Linked DNA regions of Homo sapiens: all the other regions are linked to region 5. The links are contacts of gene promoters, found by promoter capture Hi-C in human tissues and cell types (Jung and others, 2019). All regions are on one chromosome and are shown on one strand. The core of a region is centred on a gene start or on the middle of the fragment in contact, and the rest is flanking DNA. Distances in the headings are between cores, read along the strand shown.

Evidence for each region. The method cuts DNA at HindIII sites, captures the fragments that hold promoters and counts their contacts. A contact is called where the count stands out against the background at its distance.
Region 1: a contact is called between a fragment that was not itself captured here and the fragment with the promoter of INTS1 in region 5, in 2 of the 25 tissues and cell types used here (dorsolateral prefrontal cortex and spleen).
Region 2: a fragment that was not itself captured here is called in contact with the fragment with the promoter of INTS1 in region 5 in 1 of the 25 tissues and cell types used here (dorsolateral prefrontal cortex).
Region 3: a contact is called between a fragment that was not itself captured here and the fragment with the promoter of INTS1 in region 5, in 2 of the 25 tissues and cell types used here (lymphoblastoid cells and spleen).
Region 4: a contact is called between the fragment with the promoter of COX19 here and the fragment with the promoter of INTS1 in region 5, in 4 of the 25 tissues and cell types used here (H1 embryonic stem cells, hippocampus, lymphoblastoid cells and 1 more).
Region 6: a fragment that was not itself captured here is called in contact with the fragment with the promoter of INTS1 in region 5 in 4 of the 25 tissues and cell types used here (H1 embryonic stem cells, heart left ventricle, lymphoblastoid cells and 1 more).

Annotation. Positions count from the first base shown.
Region 1 is chr7:2,299,418-2,302,732 of GRCh38, reverse strand. All of the region lies in intron 1 of SNX8 (sorting nexin 8), which reads left to right. Among named protein-coding and RNA genes, the nearest start is that of SNX8, 13 kb to the left of the region's middle. RefSeq lists enhancers at 1-486, 989-1,489, 1,490-1,539. The HindIII fragment of the contact is 3,285 bases long and covers 191-3,315 here.
Region 2 is chr7:2,151,837-2,155,078 of GRCh38, reverse strand. The region is part of intron 10 of MAD1L1 (mitotic arrest deficient 1 like 1); the gene reads left to right. Among named protein-coding and RNA genes, the nearest start is that of SNORA114, 64 kb to the right of the region's middle. The HindIII fragment of the contact is 4,469 bases long and covers 1-3,242 here.
Region 3 is chr7:2,321,927-2,325,230 of GRCh38, reverse strand. It overlaps a transcript of SNX8 not described here. Among named protein-coding and RNA genes, the nearest start is that of SNX8, 9.1 kb to the right of the region's middle. The HindIII fragment of the contact is 5,349 bases long and covers 1-3,304 here.
Region 4 is chr7:973,845-977,024 of GRCh38, reverse strand. COX19 (cytochrome c oxidase assembly factor COX19) reads left to right here and starts at 1,476. Exons shown (of 3, transcript NM_001031617.3): 1 at 1,476-1,597. The coding sequence starts at 1,516. RefSeq lists enhancers at 490-1,370, 2,002-2,071, 1,371-2,253 and silencers at 1,302-1,581, 1,602-1,761. The HindIII fragment of the contact is 7,753 bases long and covers 1-3,180 here.
Region 5 is chr7:1,502,958-1,506,266 of GRCh38, reverse strand. It overlaps INTS1 (integrator complex subunit 1), which reads left to right and starts at 1,878. Exons shown (of 48, transcript NM_001080453.3): 1 at 1,878-1,944; 2 at 2,266-2,364; 3 at 3,076-3,309. The coding sequence starts at 2,307. RefSeq lists enhancers at 1-189, 375-564, 190-786 and a silencer at 1,673-2,232. The HindIII fragment of the contact is 17,901 bases long and covers 1-3,309 here.
Region 6 is chr7:2,036,339-2,039,398 of GRCh38, reverse strand. The region is part of intron 12 of MAD1L1 (mitotic arrest deficient 1 like 1); the gene reads left to right. Among named protein-coding and RNA genes, the nearest start is that of SNORA114, 51 kb to the left of the region's middle. The HindIII fragment of the contact is 3,001 bases long and covers 98-3,060 here.

The DNA.
Region 1 (3,315 bases), core at 584-3,083, 800 kb before region 5:
ACATCTCAGACGATGGGCGGCCGGGCAAAGACACTCCTCACTTCCTAGATGTGGTGGCGGCCGGGAAGAGGTGCTCCTCACTTCCTAGATGGGGTGGCAGCTGGGCAGAGACGCTCCTCACTTTCCAGACTGGGCAGCCAGGCAGAAGGGCTCCTCACATCCCAGACGATGGGCGGCCAGGCAGAGACGCTCCTCACTTCCCAGACGGGGTGGTGGCCGGGCAGAGGCTGCAATCTCGGCACTTTGGGAGGCCAAGGCAGGCGGCTGGGAGGTGGAGGTTGTAGCCAGCCGAGATCACACCACTGCACTCCAGCCTGGGCACCATTGAGCACTGAGTGAACTAGACTCCGTCTGCAATCCCGGCACCTCGGGAGGCCGAGGCTGGTGGATCACTCACGGTTAGGAGCTGAGACCGGCCTGGCCAACACAGCGAAACCCCGTCTCCACCAAAAAAATACGAAAACCAGTCAGGCGTGGCGGCGCGAGCCTGCAATCGCAGGCACTCGGCAGGCTGAGGCAGGAGAATCAGGCAGGGAGGTTGCAGTGAGCCGAGATGGCAGCAGTACAGTCCAGCTTCGGCTCGGCATCAGAGGGAGACCGTGGAAAGAGAGGGAGAGGGAGACCGTCGGGAGAGGGGAGAGGGTATTTTTTTTTAATAGAGATGAAGTTTCACCGTGTTAGCCAGGATGGTCTCGATCTCTTGACCTGGTGATCTGCCTGCCTCGGCCTCCCAAAGTGCTGGGATTACAGGTGTGAGCCACCGCGCCTGGCCGATCCCCAACTCTTTGAGAGCCTGGACAATGTGCTCTGCATTCTCCTTAGGGTCTGTGTGTGAACTAACAAGCTGAGAAGTAGGTAGTCCTAGCCTCACTTCAGAGATGAGGAAACTGAGGCATACAGAGGTTTGGTAATGAGTTAGGAGACAGAACTCGACGCTGGAGGCAGGGCCTGGATAGCAGTCGAAATTGAGGACTAGCTGAAATAGGTCCAGGGCAGAATCACCTTCCCATAAGACACGCCTGCCAGTGGGCCATGTCAGTTTACCATCACCATGGCAACACGTGGATGCCCTTTTCCATGACAATGACTGGACAACCCGGAATTTACTACCCCCATTCTAGAAATTTCTGCATAAATCACCCCTTAGTTTGCATATAATTAAAAGTAGGTATAAATATGAGTGCAACACTGCCTCTAAGTTGCTGCTCTGGGTGCCCTGGTAAGGGGGTGGTTCTGCTCTGCAAGGAGCAGGACCTCTGTTGCTGCTGTGCGTGCTGCTGCTTCAATAAAAGTTGCTAACACCATCGGCTCAGCCTTGAATTCCTTCCTAGACAAAGCCTAGAAGCCTCTGGGCTAAGCCCGAATTTGGGGGCTGGCCTGCCTTGTATTCATATGCCCATGAGCACACGGCCAATAGGTGGTGGTGCTGGGATTCACACCAGGTGTGGGGCTGCAGCTGGGACATGAGCAGTGTGGCCTGGCCTGTGAGGGTCTCTGTTGGATTTGCGTCTGGCCACGTTAAGCAGCCATTCGTAGGCATGGAGCTTTCCCTCTTCAGATGGTTTTCCTTAGAGGGAGATAGTTGCACAGACCTTTCTCATAAATAACACCCTAGACAATTGTGCTAGGTCCTTTTTATCTTTTCAGAACAGGAATGCACTTTAAAGTTAGGAAACAGGACGTAATGAAAGAGCATGTAAATTCAGAATGCCTGTTGTGAGTGTTGAAGTCATTTTGTGGGAGAATGGTTACTTGTCTCGTTCGAGGTTGGGTTTAAGCTCCACAACAGGGGCTGGGCACAGTGACTCACGCCTGTAATCCCAGCACTTTGGGAGGCCAAGGTAGACAGATCATTTGAGGTCAGGAGTTCGAGAACAGCCTGGCCAACATGGTGAAACCCCGTCTCTACTAAAAATACAAAAATTAGCTGGGCGTGGTGGCATGCGCCTATAATCCTAGCTACTCGGGAGGCTGAGGCAGGAGAATCATTTGAACCCAGGAGGTGGAGGTTGCAGGGAGCCAAGATTGCACCACTGCACTCCAGCCTGGGTGACAAGAATGAAACTCTGTCTCAATAATTTAAAAAAAAAAGAAAAAAAGACCAGCCTGGGCATTACATAGCGAGACCTTTTCTCTACAAAAAAATGAAAAAATTAGCCAGGCATGGTGGTACGTGTCTGTAGTTCCGGTTACTTGGGAGGCTGAGGCAGGAGGATCGCTTGAGCCCAAGAGACTGAGGCTACAGTGAGCTAAGATCGTGCCACTGCACTCCAGCCTAGGTGACAACAGATCAAGACTCTGTCTCCAAAAAAAAGAGAGAAAGCTTTGCAACGTGTCTACTGAAAATATTTAGTTCATTCTGGACAACTGGGTGTAGACAGTCTGTTTCCAGTTGAGTTCAACATAAAATCTCCTTGAATTGTCAGCTCTGAAAAAACAAATCACTTCTTGAATTTTGTGAGGCACAGGCTGAGTTCCCTTAAACGCGTTAAGATAATCTGAGCATCCTGGTTAACCAATCTTGGAGTTTTGGGGTCTGTAAGACACCAGATGAGAGTCCAGCCTTCTGTGCATGGAAAACTAGGTCTTCGTGTTCAGTGCAAATTTAGCCGTGGGGGAAAAACTGACTAAATATTTCTCTTCCTGTGACATTTTTCACAGTTCCTAATTTGTTCTTGCTGACTTCTGAGGCGTTACATTTTCTGGTTGATTAATTGCGTTCCTTGTTGTCTACCCTTAAGGCAGCCAGGAGAAGGAAGTGCGCCTTCTTCCTTGCTGTGCTTGCCATAGATCAATCAAGGTTTGCTGAAATGGATTTAATTGTATCTCACTTGGCCCATTATGCTGGCTGACTGCTTGGAATTTTCTTGGAGGGACCTTATTTGGTGGCCAATGAAGGTTCTTCTCCATTTGGCCTCTATGAGGATCAAGACAGACTTAGCCCCGTCAGATATTTTGGAATCTTTTCACTTTCATGTCAGGAGACCCTAGAAAAAAACCGGAGTCACTTTCAGACCAAACCAACCACCAGCCAGGAGGAGGGTTAAAAAAGAAAACGCAAGAAACCAGGCATGGGTGGCATTTAGTTAAACAGAGACGAGGACTCTTTTTGGAACTCCAAACTCCTACTTGGTAGGTTATTCCAAGATTCCCCCAATTTGCTAAAATAGTATTCCTTTTTAACTCCGGAACAAATCGCTGGGCCTCCCCTCAGATAAACATTCCCGAAATGAGAGACCCGAGAGGTGTTTTGAGGAATGAGCTGAAGTCCAATGGGCCCTTTCAGAAGGGGGTTCCGGGGGATTGGTGGGACGG
Region 2 (3,242 bases), core at 249-2,748, 650 kb before region 5:
CTCTCCGGCTCCCGTGCTGCTTCTCCGTGCAAGCCTCTCTGAGAGCTCACAGTCCACCCCTGTGGACTCCTCCGCGTGCCCAGAGCCTCCTGGGCTCCTCCTCCCCACCCCGCTTGGTTCAAGGGTATGTCCTTTACTCCAGATGGTGGCCTCCGTCCTTCTCCACAGGCTGCTGTTAATACGAGAAGAGGGCGCCGGAATGCTTCCTGTAGAGTTCAGGAGGTGACCTCCTGACCCGTTTGATCGGATTCCACCTTGTTCTTGATGGGACCTCCTTTGTGGCCTCAGAAATGTCCACATGTTGGCAAAACCATTTCATCTTTTCTTTTTCTGATATGGAGTGCTCTGAAACCATTGCCTTAAACCCATTCTGTTTCCACTAGCTAAAGCTCATACACTTCATCCCCAGAGAGCCCATTTTCTTTTATTTATTTATTTACCATTTATTTATTTTTATACATAATATTTTACATATTTATGGAGTACCTGTGATATTTTCTTACGTGCACAGAATGTGGAATGGGCAAGTTTAGGGTATTTGGGGTAACCATCACTTTGAGTATTTATCATTTCCACGTATTGGGAAAAATTCTGGTTCTCTTCTAGCTACTTTGAATTATACAATACACTGTTAACTCTAGTCACCCTCCTCTTCTGTGGAACAACTGAATTTATACCTTTCATCTAACTGTATGTTCGTACCCATTAACTCAACTCTCTTCATCTGTGGTTCCGCTCACCCAGACCTTTCAATCCACTAGTTCCTGTCATTCTACTCTCTGCCTTTAGGAGGTGAATTTCCACAGCTCCCATGAGTGAAGACGTGCAGTTTCTTTCTGTTCCTGGTGGTTTCACCTGACACGGTCACCTCCCATTCCAGCCACGTTGTTACAAATGACAGGCTCTCATTCTTTCTTTTTTTTTGAGATGGAGTCTTGCTCTGTTGCCAGGCTGGAGTGCAGTGGCGTCATCTTGGCTCACTACAACCTCTGACTCCCTGGTTCAAGTGATTCTCCTGCCTCAGCCTCCTGAGTAGCTGGGATTACAGGCGTGTGCCACCACGCCTGGCTAATTTTTGTATTTTTAGTAGAGATGGAGTTTCACCATGTTGGCCGGGCTGGTCTCGAACTCCTGACCTCCTGATCCACCTGCCTCGGCCTCCCAAAGCGGTGGGATTACAGGCGTGAGCCACCGCGCTCGGCCCAGCTCTTGTTCTTTCTTACGGCCGGATAGCATTCCACTGTGTGTACATCCCCATTTTCTTTATCCATTCGTCTGTCGATAGACACAGGTTAATTCCGTATCTTTGCCATCTTTGCTGTGATAAACATGGGAATGCAGGTATCTTTTTGATACAGTGATTTCCTTTGAGTAAATACCCAGTGGTGGGATTGCTGGATCATGTGGTGGTGTTCTGTTTTCAGCTTTTTGAGAAATCTCCATACTGGGTTCCATAGCGGTGGTACTAATTTACATTCCTTCCAACAGCAGCTGAGAGTTCCCTTTCCTCTGCATCCTCACCAGCATCTGTCTGTGTGTTTTTTGGTCTGTTTATTAGCCATTTTAAGCTGAGGTAAGGTGGTATCTCATTGTGGTTTTGATTTGCAATTCCCCCGATGATTAGTGATGTTGACCATTTTTTCATATACCTGTTGGCCATTTGCATGTCATCCTTTGAGAAATGTCTCTTTGTGTCCTTTGCCTACTTTTTCGTGGGATTATTTATGTTTTTTTAATTGTTGTTATTTGAGTTTCTTTTGAGTTGTATTTTGGATGTTAGTCCCTTATTGGCCGAAGAGTTGACAGATATTTTCCTGCATTCAAGAGGCTGTCTCTTCACTCTGTTGATTGTTTTCTTGGATGGGCAGAAGCTTTTTACTTTGATGTAGTCCCATTTGTCTATTTTTGTTTTTGTTGCCTGTGCTTTTGAGGTCTTAGCTATAAAATCTTTGCCTAGACCAATGTCCTGAAGTGTTTTCCTTGTTTTCTTTAGTATTTTTTATATTTTTGGGTCTTAGGTTTCAGCCTGTAATCCATCTCCAGTTGATTTTTGTATATGGGGAACACATTTTCTTTTGATTGACACTGCCGAACAAAGGGTATACAAAATTTCACAACTTTTAACATGCTGGTTGATGATTGTACTTGAAGTGTTTTCTCCTCATGTCCCCGGCGACATCCAGACACCGCCTCCACGGTGCATGTCCTCTCCCGGCCTCCCAATGCCAGTGTGAAAATGGGCTTGGATTGCACACCCTGAAAACAGCCTCCAGCCTCCCTGTCCCTTCCACATCCATAAAGTTAACGGCATAGGGATTGTCAGGTAATAGCAGTGCACTGTACCTGTGCCGTAGGGTTTTGGAAGTGAGCCTTAGGAAGCCCAGCCGAGCAGGTAGGGAGTTGAGCCTGGAGGGGTCAGGGCTGGGGCTGAGACCCAGGTTTTCTCCCATGGGTCCATCTCCTTTTCCTTTAAGGATGTCCTGGCCTTCCCTCTGTCTCTGCAAGTAGAGTAGACTGGTCCCGTGTGACGTTCTTGAAGGCTGTCATCGAGCTCACTGTGCTTGTGCTTTTGAGTGGAAGCTGAACCCTGGTCATGAGCAAGAATGGCCAGACAGGGCTCGTGAGGCTTGGTTTAGCCAAAGTGGTGACTGCGGGTTTTTCAGCGCAAGAGGCTGCGAAGGGAGGGATTCCTTCTGGTGCCCCTGTGCCCTCCAGCGGCTTCTGCCCGTGGGAGGTGTTGGGCACGGCTGCCCCTGTGGTTGGAGGGCTCTGGAATAGCAAGCCCTGCAGCTTCAGTCCTCCCTATGATGGGGGCCTGGTCGCATGGGGACTGAGAGCCGGCAGGGATCTGGGGGCCTAGGGATGTGGCCAGCAAGTATCCAGGCTGAGAGCCCATCACGTGACAGTGCTCCCGAGGGCTGGGGTCTGTGTGGGACCATCCGCCTCAGGCGCCAGCCTTCTGCCTCAGGGCAAGCCATGCTCTCTGTTCCTGCCTGGGGCAGGACAACTCCAGGTCACACCCACCTCAGGCAAGGAGGAGCGTGCAGGGGAGCCACCCGGAAGCAGCCTCCTGCAGAGTCGGTGGGAATGTGGAGAGCCAGCCTGCTCCTTGGGTGATGGAGATGGATGCCCCGGGGCTCCAGAGTACTCAGGTTTCTCCTGTGGCCCATCAGTGCCAGAATGAGGCGTTGACCCCATGACATGAGACAGAGGCCTTCCTGGGTGACGTAGGAGACTGCCTG
Region 3 (3,304 bases), core at 617-3,116, 820 kb before region 5:
AGATTAATGCTGCAGTGAGCTCTGATTGCACCACTGTGCCCTAGCCTAGTCAAGAGAGCAAAACTCTGTCTCTAAAAAAATTTTTTTATAAAAGCAGTGGGCCAGGCATGGTGGCTCATGCCTGTAATCCTGGCACTTTGGGAGGCCAAGTCAGGAGGATAGCTTGAGACTGTCCTTGAGACTGGCCTGGGCAATACAGTGAGACACCATTCTACAAAAAATAAATAGCCTGTAGCTGGGACTACAGGCGTGTGCCACCATGCCTGGCTACATGGCCAATGCCTGCAGTCCCAGCTACGCAGCAGGCTGAGGAAGGAGGATCTCTTGTACCCAGGAGACGGAGGCTGCAGTGAGCCATGATCCTACCACTGCACTCCGGCCTGGGTGTGATAGCAAGACCCTGTCTCAAAAAATTAAAAAAAGGAAGAGTGTTGAGAAGAAATTGGTAGCTTTATAACACAGGGCAAATGCCCACAAGGGTTGTGAGAATGGTGTCTTGCAGCCTAGGCTAGGATCTCAGCTCTGGGATCTTAGGGTGTTGAACTTTTCTGGTCTTGGTTGCCTGCAAAGTACTGATCATACCACTTCCTAAATTTTTTTTATTCTTAGTTTATTTTTATTTTTATTTTTTTGAAAAATAGGTCAGTCACAGTGGCTCACTCTTGTAATCCTAGCACTTTAGGAGGCTGAGGTGGGCAGATTGCCTGAGCTCAGGAGTTCGAGACCACCCTGGGCAACATGGTGAAACCCTGTCTCTACTAAAATACAAAAAATTAGCCAGGCGTGGTGGCGCATGCCTGTAATCCCAGCTACTTGGGAGGCTGAGGCAGGAGAATTGTTTGAACCTGGGAGGTGGAGGTTGTAGTGAGCCAAGATCACACCACTGCACTCTAGCCTGGACGACACAGTGAAACTCTGTCTCAAAAAAAAAAAAAAAGAAAGAAAGAAAATAGAGATGGGGTGTCACTACGTTGCCCAGGCTGGTTTTGAATTCCTGGGCTCAAGTAACCCTCCTGCCTTGGCCTCTCAAAGTGCTATGATTACAGACGTGAGCCACTGCCCCCGGCCAGGATGAGATACATTCTTTTTTTATAAATTCTTTTTTTTTTGAGATGGAGTCTTGCCCTTGCCACCCCAGGCTGGAGTACAGTGGCGTGATCTCAGCTCACTGCAACCTCTGCCTCCCAGGTTCAAGCGATTATCCTGCCTCAGCCTCCCAAGTAGCTGGGACTAGAAGCATGCACCACCATGCCCAGCTTATTTTTGTATTTTTAGTAGAGACGGGGTTTTACCATGTTGGCTAGGCTGGTCTCGAACTCTTGATCTCAGGTGATCCACCTGAGGTTGCAGTGAGCCGAGATGGTGCCACTGCACTCAAGCCTGGGCAACAGAGCAAGAGTCGGTCTCAAAACAAAAACAAAAAACCAAGAAGACTCAGTTCCTAGTACGCATTCAATACGTGTTAGCGTGGTTAGTGTTTGGTGCTGTCCTGGCTTCTGGCGTGCCAGGCACGTGGTAGTACTGCACTTCTGGTCCTTCTGAGGTTGAGCGAGACCACATCACTGGTCCTGGCCAATGCGTTGTGAACAGCAATGAGTCTTACTTCTGGGCCATATCATTTAGCGGCTCCTGCAGCATCCTCCAGATCCTTTCTCTCTGTTAACATGGCAGAAATGCAGGATGGTGGCCGCTCTGTGATCCTGGGTCTCTGCATGCCGGTGACAGACATGAACCCCTTTGTGACTTTAAGCCTCTGGGATTTGAGATTGTTACTGCAGCATGATATAGCCTATCCTAAACAACTCATTAGCCATTATTAGTATTTCTAAGATACGCTAAACAATGCATTACCCATTATTAGTTTTTTTGTTTGTTTGGTTGTTTTTTTTTTTTTTTTTTTTGAGACAGACTCTCACTCTGTCGCCCTGGCTGGAGGGCAGTGGCACAATCTCAGCTCACTGCAACCTCCACCCCCAAAGTTCAAGCGATTTTCATGCCTCAGCTTCCCGAGCAGATGGGATTACAGGCACCTGCCATCATGTCCAGCTAATTTTTGTATTTTTAGTAGGAATGGGGTTTCACCGTATTGGCCGGGCTGGTCTAGAACTCCTGACCTCAGATGATCCACTGGCCTTGGCCTCCCAAAGTGCTGGGATTACAGGTGTAAGCCACCATGCCTGGCCCACACCATTTATTTATTTATTTATTTATTTAGAGACAGAGTCTTGTTCTGTTGCCCAGGCTGGAGTGCAGCAGCAAGATCTCGGCTTACTGCAACCTCTGCCTCCCAGGTTCAAGTAATTCTCTTGCTTCAGCTTCCCGAGTAGCTGGGATAACAGGTGCCCACCACCACGCCCGGATTTTTTTTTTATTTTTAGTAGAGACAGGGTTTCACCATGTTGCCCAGGCTGGTCTTGAACTCCTGGCCACAGGTGATCCACATACTTCAGCCTCCCAAAGTGCTGGGATTACAGGCGTGACCCATAGCACCTGGCCTACAGCATTTATTTTATTTTATTCTATTTTATTTTACTTTTGAGATGGAGTCTCAATCTGTCACCCAGGCTGGAGTGCAGTGGCGCGATTATGGCTCACTGCAACATCCACCTCCTGGGTTCAAGCGATTCTCCTGCCTCAGCCTCCCGAGTAGCTGGGATTACAGGCGTGCGCCACCACACCAAGTTAATTTTGTATTTTTAGTAGAGATGGGGTTTCATCATGTTAGCCAGGCTGATCTCGAACCCCTGACCTCAGGTGATCCACCCGCCTTGGCCTCCCAAAGTGCTGGGATTACAGGTGTGAGCCACGGCGCCCAGCCAGCATTTATTTTTAAGTGATGGGGTCTTGCTCTGTGGCCCAGGCTGGAATACGGTGGCACAATCATAGCTCACTGTAGCTTCCACCTCCTGGACTGAAGCACTTCTCCTGCCTTGGCCTCCCAAAGCACTGCAATTATAGGCGTGAGCCACCACACCAGCATTTTAGTAACTGTTTCTGAAAGGTCCTTAGCAGGTCCTTTCTGCACGTCCTCCTGTGTAGTTAAATTCTGACTCCGATGCTCTGCATGCTAAGTTCTGTCCATTTGCCCAGCTAGTTCCCATTTTCCTAAATGAAAAGCACTACATGTGAATCAAAAAAACAGATTAACCATCGTGATATAACTGGGTTCTTGCTACTAAGCAAAATGTTTTAGAATTGAGAAATTCGAGGCCGGGCGCAGTGGCTCACGCCTATAATCCCAGCACTTTGGGAGGCTTAGGCGGCAGATCACCTGAGGCCAGGAGTTCGAGACCAGTTTGGCCAA
Region 4 (3,180 bases), core at 227-2,726, 530 kb after region 5:
CCTGTCATCCCAGCCCTTTGGGAGGCTGAAGTGGGCGGATCACTTAAGGTCAGGAGTTCGAGACCAGCCTGGGCAACATGGTGAAACCCCGTCTCTACGAAAAGTACAAAAAATTAGCCGGGTGTGGTGGCGCATGCCTGTAATCCCAGCTACTCTGGAGGCTGAGGCAGGAGAATCTCTTGAACTCGGGAAGTGGAGGTTGCGGTGAGCCGAGATCGTACCACTGCACGCCCGTCTAGGTTACAAAGTGAGACTCTGTGTTGAAAAAAAATATATTAGCTTAGCTGGGTGTGTTGGTGGCGCCTGTAATCCCAGCTACTCGGGAGGCTGAGGCAGGAGAATTGCTTTAACCTGGGAGGTGGAGGTTGCAATGAGCCAGGATCGAGCCACTGTACTCCAGCCTGGGCAACAAGAGAGAGACTCCGTTTTAAAAAACAAAACAAAGAAATAGGGTTGCTGCTGATATAATTAGTTAAGATGAAGTTATTGGGACGGCCCCTAACCCAACATGACTGCTATCCTTATAAAAAGAGGAAATTTAGGTTGGGCATGGTGGCTCATGCCTATAATCCCGGCATTTAGGGAGGCTGAGGCAGGAGGATTGCCTGAGCCCAGGAGTTAAGGACCAGCCTGGGCAACATAGGGAGACTCCATCTCTACGAAAAATAGAAAAATTAGCCTGGTGTGGTGGTGTGTGCCTGTGGTCGCAGCTACTCAGGAGGCTGGGGTGAGAGGATCGCTGAGCCCAGGAGGTCGAGGCTGCAGTGAGTCGTGATCATGCCACTGCACTCTAGTCTGGGCAACAGAGCAATACCCTGTCTCAAATAAATAAATAAAAATAGTAAATTTGGACATGCGCAGGACACCATGGGAACGTAGGGGCCGAGACCAGGTGGTGCTTCTGCAAGCCAAGGAACCTCACAGGCTGGCGGCCCCCAGAAGCTGGGAGGCTGGGACTGTCCCCAGGGCCCCCACTCTGCCCACTGCTTGGACTCCAGACCCCAGGACTGAGAGCACATTCCTGTTGTTGAAGCTGCTCGGTGGTGTCACCTGGCTCCAGCAGCCGCAGGCAGCGAGTCCACAGGCTCTCCTGTCCCTCCTGTGCCGCCTTCCTCCCCGGATGGGCCCCGTGATGAGGTCTCTGTGCGATGGGGAAACCGAGGCCCCAGCAGACACCTGGGATGCAGAGACGCCGGCACCGCTATGTGTCCTCGGGCAATTCGCTGAACCTTTCTGGGCCTCGGTTTCTCACCAATTCCAAAAGCTGATTCTGCTACCGACTGCTGTGAGGGTCCCAGGGGACGGGAAAGCCCGGGCAGCGCCCACCGGGGCTCAGGAGCTTGCTGACTCCGAGGGGGTGGGGCCGGGCCTGGGCAAGGGGTGGGGCCGGGCCTGGGCAAGGGGCGGGGACGGGGCCTGCTCGACGTGCTCGGCGCTCCCGGGGTGCCTGCTCGGCGCTCCGCCGGCCGCCCTGCGTACGCTCGCAAGGCGCTCGCAGACTCCGGAGTCGCCAACATGTCGACCGCCATGAATTTCGGGACCAAGAGCTTCCAGCCGCGGCCCCCGGACAAGGGCAGCTTCCCGCTGGATCACTTAGGTGAGCGGCGGAAGGTCGGCGGGCAGGGGTCTGCGATGGGGGGTCTGGGTCGCGGCCCAGCGCGGAGCCCTATGGGGTGCCGGCATCTAGCGCGGTGCAGGCGGGGAAACTGAGGCACGGCGGCCCGCCCCTCCGCCCCACCCAGCCCTGGGTCACTGCTGCGGCATGGACCCTGCAGGTGGGAGCTGGCAGGACCGTGGCCCCCGTGACGAGGGCAGCGACACCGACTCCTTGCGTCAGGCTTCCGGGTCTCCGGCTCCGCCCTGACTCACCCGGCGGGCTGTCTGTGCCCCGGGTTTGCAGAGCGGGGCATTCGGCGGCCACGAAGCCCGCAGCTGCAGCCGAGGCTTAGACGGTGCCTAGCGATGTCTGCTGCAAAGCTCAAAAGTGCTGCTGATCTCCCAGTGCTTCTGGCCGTATTCCGGTGGGGTTGCCTCCGTGGACATGAAGGCTTCGAAAAAGGATCTGTGGGCCGGGCGCGGTGGCTCATGCCTGTGATCCCAGCCCTTTGGGAGGCCGAGGTGGGCGGATCATTTAAGATCAGGAGTTCGAGACCAGCCTGCCCAACATGGGGAAACCCCGTCTCTACTAAAAATACAAAAATTAGTTGGGTGTGATGTGGCTCGCCTGTAGTCCCAGCTACTCGGGAGGCTGAGGCAGGAGAATCGCTTGAACCGGGAGACGGAGGTTGCAGTGAGCCGAGATCGGGCCACTGCACTGCAGCTTGGGCGACAGAGTGAGACAACGTCTCAAAAAAAAAAAGAAAGAAAAGAAAAGAAAAACGATCTGTGAATTACTGTTTCTTTCCCAACATTTTATTGTGACATTTTCAAATAGCAAAAATGAAAGAATTTTTACCCTGAACTCTCCTGTGACCATCACCTACATTGCACCTTAACCTCGTACTGGGCTGACTTTACCTCGTTGTGGGTTTTTTCCATTGTTGTTTTCAGCATGTTTATGAAGGAAACAAGTTTGGGTTTGATTGTTTTTGTTTTGAGACACGGTCTCACTCTGTTGCTTAGGCTGGAGTGCAGTGGTGCAATCATAGCTCACTGAAGCCTCGGCCTCCTTCCTTTCTGGACTCAGGGGAGTCTCCCGTCTCATCCTCTAGAGTAGCTGGGACTATAGGTGTGCAGCGCCACACCCAGCTAATTTTTTTTTTTTTTTTTTTTTTAGAGATGGGGTTTCCCCATGTTGCCCAGGCTGGATTATTTATTTATTTATTTTTGAAATGGACTCTCACTGTGTCGCCCAGGCTGGAGTGCAGTGGTGTGATCTCGACTCACTGCAACCTCCTCCTCCCGGGTTCAAGCGATTCTCCTGTCTCAGCCTCTAGAGTAGCTGGGACTATAGGTGTGCAACACCACACCCAGCTAATTATTATTGTTTTTTTATTTTTTATTTTAAAGATGGAGTTTCCCCATGTTGACCAGGCTGGATCATTTATTTATTTATTTTTGAAATGGAGTCTCACTCTGTCACCCAGGCTGGAGTGCAGTGGTGTGATCTCGACTCGCTGCAACCTCCGCTTCCTGGGTTCAAGCAATTCTCCTGCCTCAGCCTCCCGAGTAGCTGGGACT
Region 5 (3,309 bases), core at 629-3,128:
GTAGAGGGATGAAGCCGCACAGCCCCCGCCTGGCGTCCGGCAGGGATCCGCGCCTGACCGGCCTCTCCTCCCATGGGCACCACGGACGTCTCCTTCCGGACTCGCTGCCCACACAGCGCAGGGTGCAGGGCCCTGGAGCCCTTGGGGTCCTGCGGGGACCCAGCTGGTGCCCACAGGAGTGGAAAGAGACCGTGGCGGGTCACACAGCAGTTCTCAGGCTGCAGCCTGGGGCCATGAGCCTCACTGAGGCCACAGTCAAATGGCCACACCCAACTTCAGGGGCACAGGGAGACCAGCTCTGCCTTGCGGTCCCTGGATGAGGAGATGGGACACACCGGGCAGGCGGTGCTCAGGACTCCCTCGGTGGCGGGGCAGCGTTCGAGTCAGTGCCCTGCTGGGAACAGATCTCCAAGATGTGGTTAAGTGGCAAAAGCCAGGTGCAGAAAAGAGGAGCCGTGCGCTACCTGCAGGGTGACAAGGCAGAGGGAGGCACACGGGTGGCTGCCTGAACGCACACGGAAAAGCCGGGAACACAGGCACAAATCAGAACACAGGCTGACTCCAGGGGAGGGGACCAGCTGCTCAGGGGTCAGGGGAGACCTTCGACCCTTTGACTGGATGATTCCCCCACCTTTTATTTTTATTTTTTTTTAGACAGGGTCTCGCTCTGTCGGCCGGCTGCAGCGTAGTGGCACCATCATAGCTTACTGCAGCCTTGACCTCCCAAGCTGAAGAGATCCTCCTACCTCAGCCTCCTCAGTAGCTGGGACCGTAGGCATGCACCACCATGCCTGGCTAATTTATTCTTGATTTTTGTTTGTAGAGATAGGGTCTCACTATGTTGCCCAGGCTGGTCTCAGACTCCCACTTTGGCCTCCCAAAGGGCTGGGATTAGAGGTTCATGCCACCATGCCCAGCTAATTTTTATTTTTTTGTAGAGATGGGGGTCTTGCTATGTTGCTCAGGCTGGTCTCGAACTCAACCGATCCTCCTGCCTTGGTCTCCCAAAGTGCTGAGATTACAGGCATGAGCATCACACCTGGCAACTGTATGATCTTTTGTGTCTTTTGAGTTTTGTTCCCATCAGTGTTTCCATTAAAAAAAAAAAAAAAAAGGCGTGGGGGCGGGGCGGGCGCAGTAATTCCAGCACTTTGGGAGGCCAAGGCGGGCGGACCACCTGAGGTCAGGAGTTCGAGACCAGCCTGGCCAACATGGTGAAACCCCGTCTCTACTAAAAACACAAAAAAATTAGCCAGACATGGTGGCGGGCGCCTGTAATCCCAGCTACTCGGGAGACTGAGGCAGGAGAATCGCTTGAACCTGGGAGGTGGAGGTTGCAATAAGCCGAGGTCGCGCCACTGCATTCCAGCCTGGGCGACAGAGCGAGACTCCGTGCCAAAAAAAAAAAGAAAAAAGAAAAGGGTGAACTTTGTGGAACACGAGTTCTATCTCAATAAAGCTATTATTATTATTATTATTATTATTTGAGACAGGGTCTCTCCCCGGGAGCCCCCCGGGCTGCGCCCCCTCGCCAGTGCCTGCGCCCCGGCCGCCCCCGCTCTCCGGGACGTGCAGAACCTGCCACTTGACTCATCCGCGGATCCCTGACGCCACTCCTCCCCGCCGTGCGTCCTGGAGTGCGTCCCTTCGCAACGCCAGCACCACCTGTGAATGGAGAGGCCAGCGCCTGCCCCGCGCCGCCGACCCACCTGGACCGGACCACATGCGCGCGGCGCCGGCCAGCCCGCCTCCCGCCGCCATGGGGCGCTGCAGGCATCAGGCCGGCGCCGCGGGCCTCTCGCGCCTCCTTCTGGGCCCGCTTCCCGCCGCACTGTTTTCCTTCCGGTTGTTCCGGAAGTCGGGTCCTCGAGGGCGGTGAGATCGGTTTCCGATTCCGGGGTGGCCGGGTGGCGGCGGCGGCGCTCCGGTCGCGATGGGCCAGAGGTAAGTGAGCCGCGGCCTGGGCGCTTCCTCATTGCCGGGCGAGCGCCTGGTTCTCCCGGCTACCGCTCCCGGCCTCTGGGCCGTCCCTTCTGGTTCTGCCGCCTCCAGCCCGGCGTCCGCGTCGCCTGCTGCCGCCCGACTGAGCCGCTCCCGGGCGGCTGGGAGGCGGGGTCCCTGCAGCTCCTGCAGCATCGCCCCGCCGGGCGGGCGCGGGACCACTGTCCCCGGGTCCCAGGCCCAAGCCCCGTGCGGCAAGGGAGCGAATGAGCGAGCGAACGAGCGAATGAGTGAAGGAATGACCGCACGCTGGCTCCTCCGCAGGTGACGCCGCAGCCGCCGGGAGCCGCGAGGGACGGGGCAGGATGAACCGGGCCAAGCCCACCACGGTGCGCCGGCCCAGCGCCGCGGCCAAACCCTCAGGTGCGTCTCCCTCCTCGCTCTGCAGCCCGGGGGTCTTTGGGGGTCTTTGGGGGTCTTTGGGGATCTCAGCTGCCGCGGATCCTGCGTTGGGCTTGGTTGTTCCGCAGCCGCGGCTGTTTCCAGGAATTCGGTCTGGAAACACTGCTCTCGGTCCTCAGCGGCTCTGAGAGTCCCTGGGAGGCTTGGGACAGTGGCGACTTCCTTCGGGACCCCGGTGATCTCGTTTCAGGCTGAGCTGCAAGGCGGCCGACAGTAGCGGAAGGTCTCCCCAGCCAGGAGGCGGGAGGCAGCACAGTGTAGCGTAGCACGGGGTCTGCGGCTGAACTGTCGGCTCAGATCCTCCGGACTTTGCCACTCGCCTGCTGTGTGACGCTGGGCACGTCGCTTAACCTCTCTGTGTCCCTTTCTCTCTTGTAAAGTTAGAGTAATAGCACCTATTGCGGAAACTCGGGGCGGGGGTTACTAAGCACACTAATTTGGATAGACCAGAGATGGCCTGGTTTGTGGTTAGCGCTACGTGACTGTCCACCATCACCTGTGCGTATCCTGCTGGTCCCAGCTCTGCTGTAGGCTGCTGAGTGAGCTCTGGCTTCTTCCTTGCCTCCTCTGACCCTTGTTTAATCCCCTCTGACATAACAGGAGGTTAGAGTCAGTCTTTTTCCATCTTGGGTGTTGCAAATGTGCCCGGTTTTCTCTCTCCTTTCTCTGCAGGGCACCCTCCCCCAGGAGACTTCATTGCTCTGGGCTCAAAGGGTCAGGCCAATGAATCGAAAACGGCGTCCACCCTGCTGAAGCCAGCCCCTTCCGGCCTGCCTTCTGAGCGCAAGCGGGATGCGGCGGCCGCGTTGTCCAGTGCCTCGGCCCTCACCGGTCTCACCAAACGCCCCAAACTCTCCTCCACACCCCCTCTGAGTGCCCTGGGGCGCCTGGCTGAGGCTGCAGTGG
Region 6 (3,060 bases), core at 349-2,848, 530 kb before region 5:
ACCAGCAGTCGCATTCCTGGGTGTCGATTCCAGTGAAATAAAACCGAGGTTCGGACAAAACCCGACAGAGGACTCTTCCTAGCAGCTTTTGCATAATGGCCAAAAACTGGAAAGAATTCTGATGTCCTTCGGTGGTGATGGTTAAACAACGGTAGTGCCTCCGTCACACAGAGTAATACTCAGGACTAAGAAGGAATTCACTGTGGATAAACATACTTGAATAGATCTCCAGGGAGTTTAGCGGAGCGAAGAGCCCAGTCCCTGAAGGTCGTGTGCTGCATGATCCCATTTGCATGACGTTATTAAAAGGCTGAAGTGATAGACAGCCTGTGGATGGCTGCCGTGAGTTACGGAGACGCACAGGAGGAATCGTGGCTGTGAACGGACAACCCGAGGGGTTTTTGTGGTGATGAAATGTGCTGTATCTTGACTGTATCATTGTCGGCATACGGGTTGTGATACTGTGCTGTAGTTGTGCCAGATGTTGCTATTGGGAGGAACTGGATGAATGCTACTTGTGATCTCTGTATTATTTTTTATAGCTCCAAGTGAATCTGTAATTGGATCAAAATAAAAAGCTTAGATCAGGCACAGTAGCTGATGCATGGAATCCCAGCACTTTGAGAGGTCGAGGTGGGCGGATCACTTGAGGTCAGCAGGAGTTCGAGACCATCCTGGCCAGCATGGTGAAACCCTGTCTCTACTAAAAATACAAAAAATTAGTGAGGCGTGGTGGCACACACTTGTAATCCCGGCTACTTGGGAGGCTGAGGCAGGAGAATTGCTTGAACCCAGAAGGCGGAGGTTGCAGTGAGCCAAGATTGTGCCACCGTGCTCCAGCCTGGGTGACAGAATGAGTGAGACTGTGTCTCAAAAAAAAAAAAAAAAAAAAAAAAAAAAGTCATCAGCTTCATTATCTCCTAACAGCATCAGCTTGTCCTCTGAAACTTTGAAGGCAGGGATCGACTTCTCCTCTGTAACTGTAAAAGCCCTAGACGGCATCTTCCAGCAGAAGGCTGTTTTATGTGCACTGCAAATCTGGTGTTTAGTGTGGCCACCTTCATTGGTGCTCTTAGCTGGATCTTCTGGAGAACTTGCTGCAGCTTCTCCGTCAGCACTTGCGGCTTCACCTTGTACTTTTATGTGATGGGGACTGCCTCTTAATGTAAACCTCATGAACCCACCTCTGCTAGCTTCAGACTTGAATTCTGCAGCTTTCCCACCTCTCTCAGCCTCGTGGAACTTGCTCTGACTTAAGGGAATGTTGGGGCTGGTTTGATCTATCCAGACCACTCAGACTTCTCCGTATCAGCAATAAGACAGTTTCACTTTCTTATCGTTGGTGTGTTCAGTGGAGCAGCACTTTTAATTTCCTCCAAGAACTTTCCCTTTGCATTCACAACTTGGCGAGCTGTTTGGCACGAGAGGCCTGGCTTTCGGCTTATCTTTGCTTTTGGCACGCCTTCCTCACTAAGCTTAATCCTTTCTAGCTTTTGGTTTAAAGGAGAGACATGCGACTCTTCCTTTCTCTTGAATGCTTAGAGGCTGTTGTAGGGTTATTAATTGGCCTGATTTTAATACTGTTGTGTCGCCCAGGGAATAGAGAGGCCCAAGGAGAGGGAGGGAGGGAGATGGCTGGTCAGTGAAGCAGCCAGACACAAGCAGCGTTGGTCGGTGAAGCTTTTGCCGTCTGAGGAGCATAGTGTGTGGCGTCCCAGAATCAATGACAGCAGTAAGATCGGAGACCGCCGATCACAGACCACAACAGACATAACAGTGATGCAATGTCGGAAGTACAGTCAGGACGTGGCGCCCCAGAATCAATGACAGTAGTAAGATCAGAGACCACCCATTACAGACCACAACAGATATAATAGTGATACAATGTCTGAAACGCCATGAGGATTACCAGATGTGACAGAGCCGTGTAGGGAGCACATGCTGTTGGGAACATGGTGCCTCGCCGAAGGCAGGACGGCCACAAGCCTTCCATTTGTAAGAAGCACAGTATCTGTGTAGTCCAGGAGAGCAAGGCGTGCCTGGGTCCATGCTGGCTCCTTATTGTGGCCAGCACACTGTGCTCGTGTAAGATGTTAACAGTGGGGCACCTGGGTGTGGAATATGTGAAAAGTCTCTACCATCTTCTCCATTCTTCTAAATCTAAACCCGTTCTAAAAAAAAAAAAAAAAAAGAAGAGTCTATTAAGAAGACAAAGAAGGAGCCGAAATTTCCACGTGGCAGAAGGCACTGGAACCGGTGAGATCTGATGTGTACCTGGGCCTGATCCACGTTTGCTGCATGGCTGGACACCTTCGTGGGCGCGTGGAAGCTCATGCTGTGGGGGGAGCTGTGGGAGGAGCATGCGGCAGGTGGAGGTCTTCTGCGCGTGGGTGGGCACGCGGAAGCTCGTGCTGTGGGGGGAGCTGTGGGAGGAGTGCTGGAGGAGCCCTGGGAGGAGTGTTCAGGAGGCGGAGCGTGCCTCGTGCGCGTTGGTGGGTATGAGTGGCGTTGGTGGGATCTAGCTGACCACCTCCCACCTGGTTGGTCTGCATCTGTAGACAGCTTAGTTCTTAGGATTCTAGGTACCCAGTGTCATTTCCGACACCTGCTTGGGCTCCCTGTACTGCCAGGGCTGTTGAGTCTTTACAGCACCTCTGATCAGGAGCCCTGGCCTTGGGGAGGTGGGACAGGCACACGTCTGGGTTGCTGGGTTGCCTTTAGGGGTAAGCTCTTCCTTTTGTCTTCTGTTCAAAAGAGGGCCCACAGTGGATTCAGGCCTCTGATTTACCACTGCCTGGAGCTTGGGGAATGCTCTCCAGTGACAACCTGGGCTTCCGTGGGATTTAATTTTGATATATTGGCCTTTGTGTGTAGGAAGAGTCCAAACTCACGACCGGATGGATTGTCCTCCTCAGACTAGACACTTCATCCAGAGAGGACTCTGAGCCAACCCTAAGGGATTCAGGCTGGAGCTCTGGTTCCCCGCACGGAGGTGGCGCAGGAATGCATCGTCCTCCCCTGTCCTGACTTGTCAGCGCTCCTGCGCTCATGCCTGGGAGC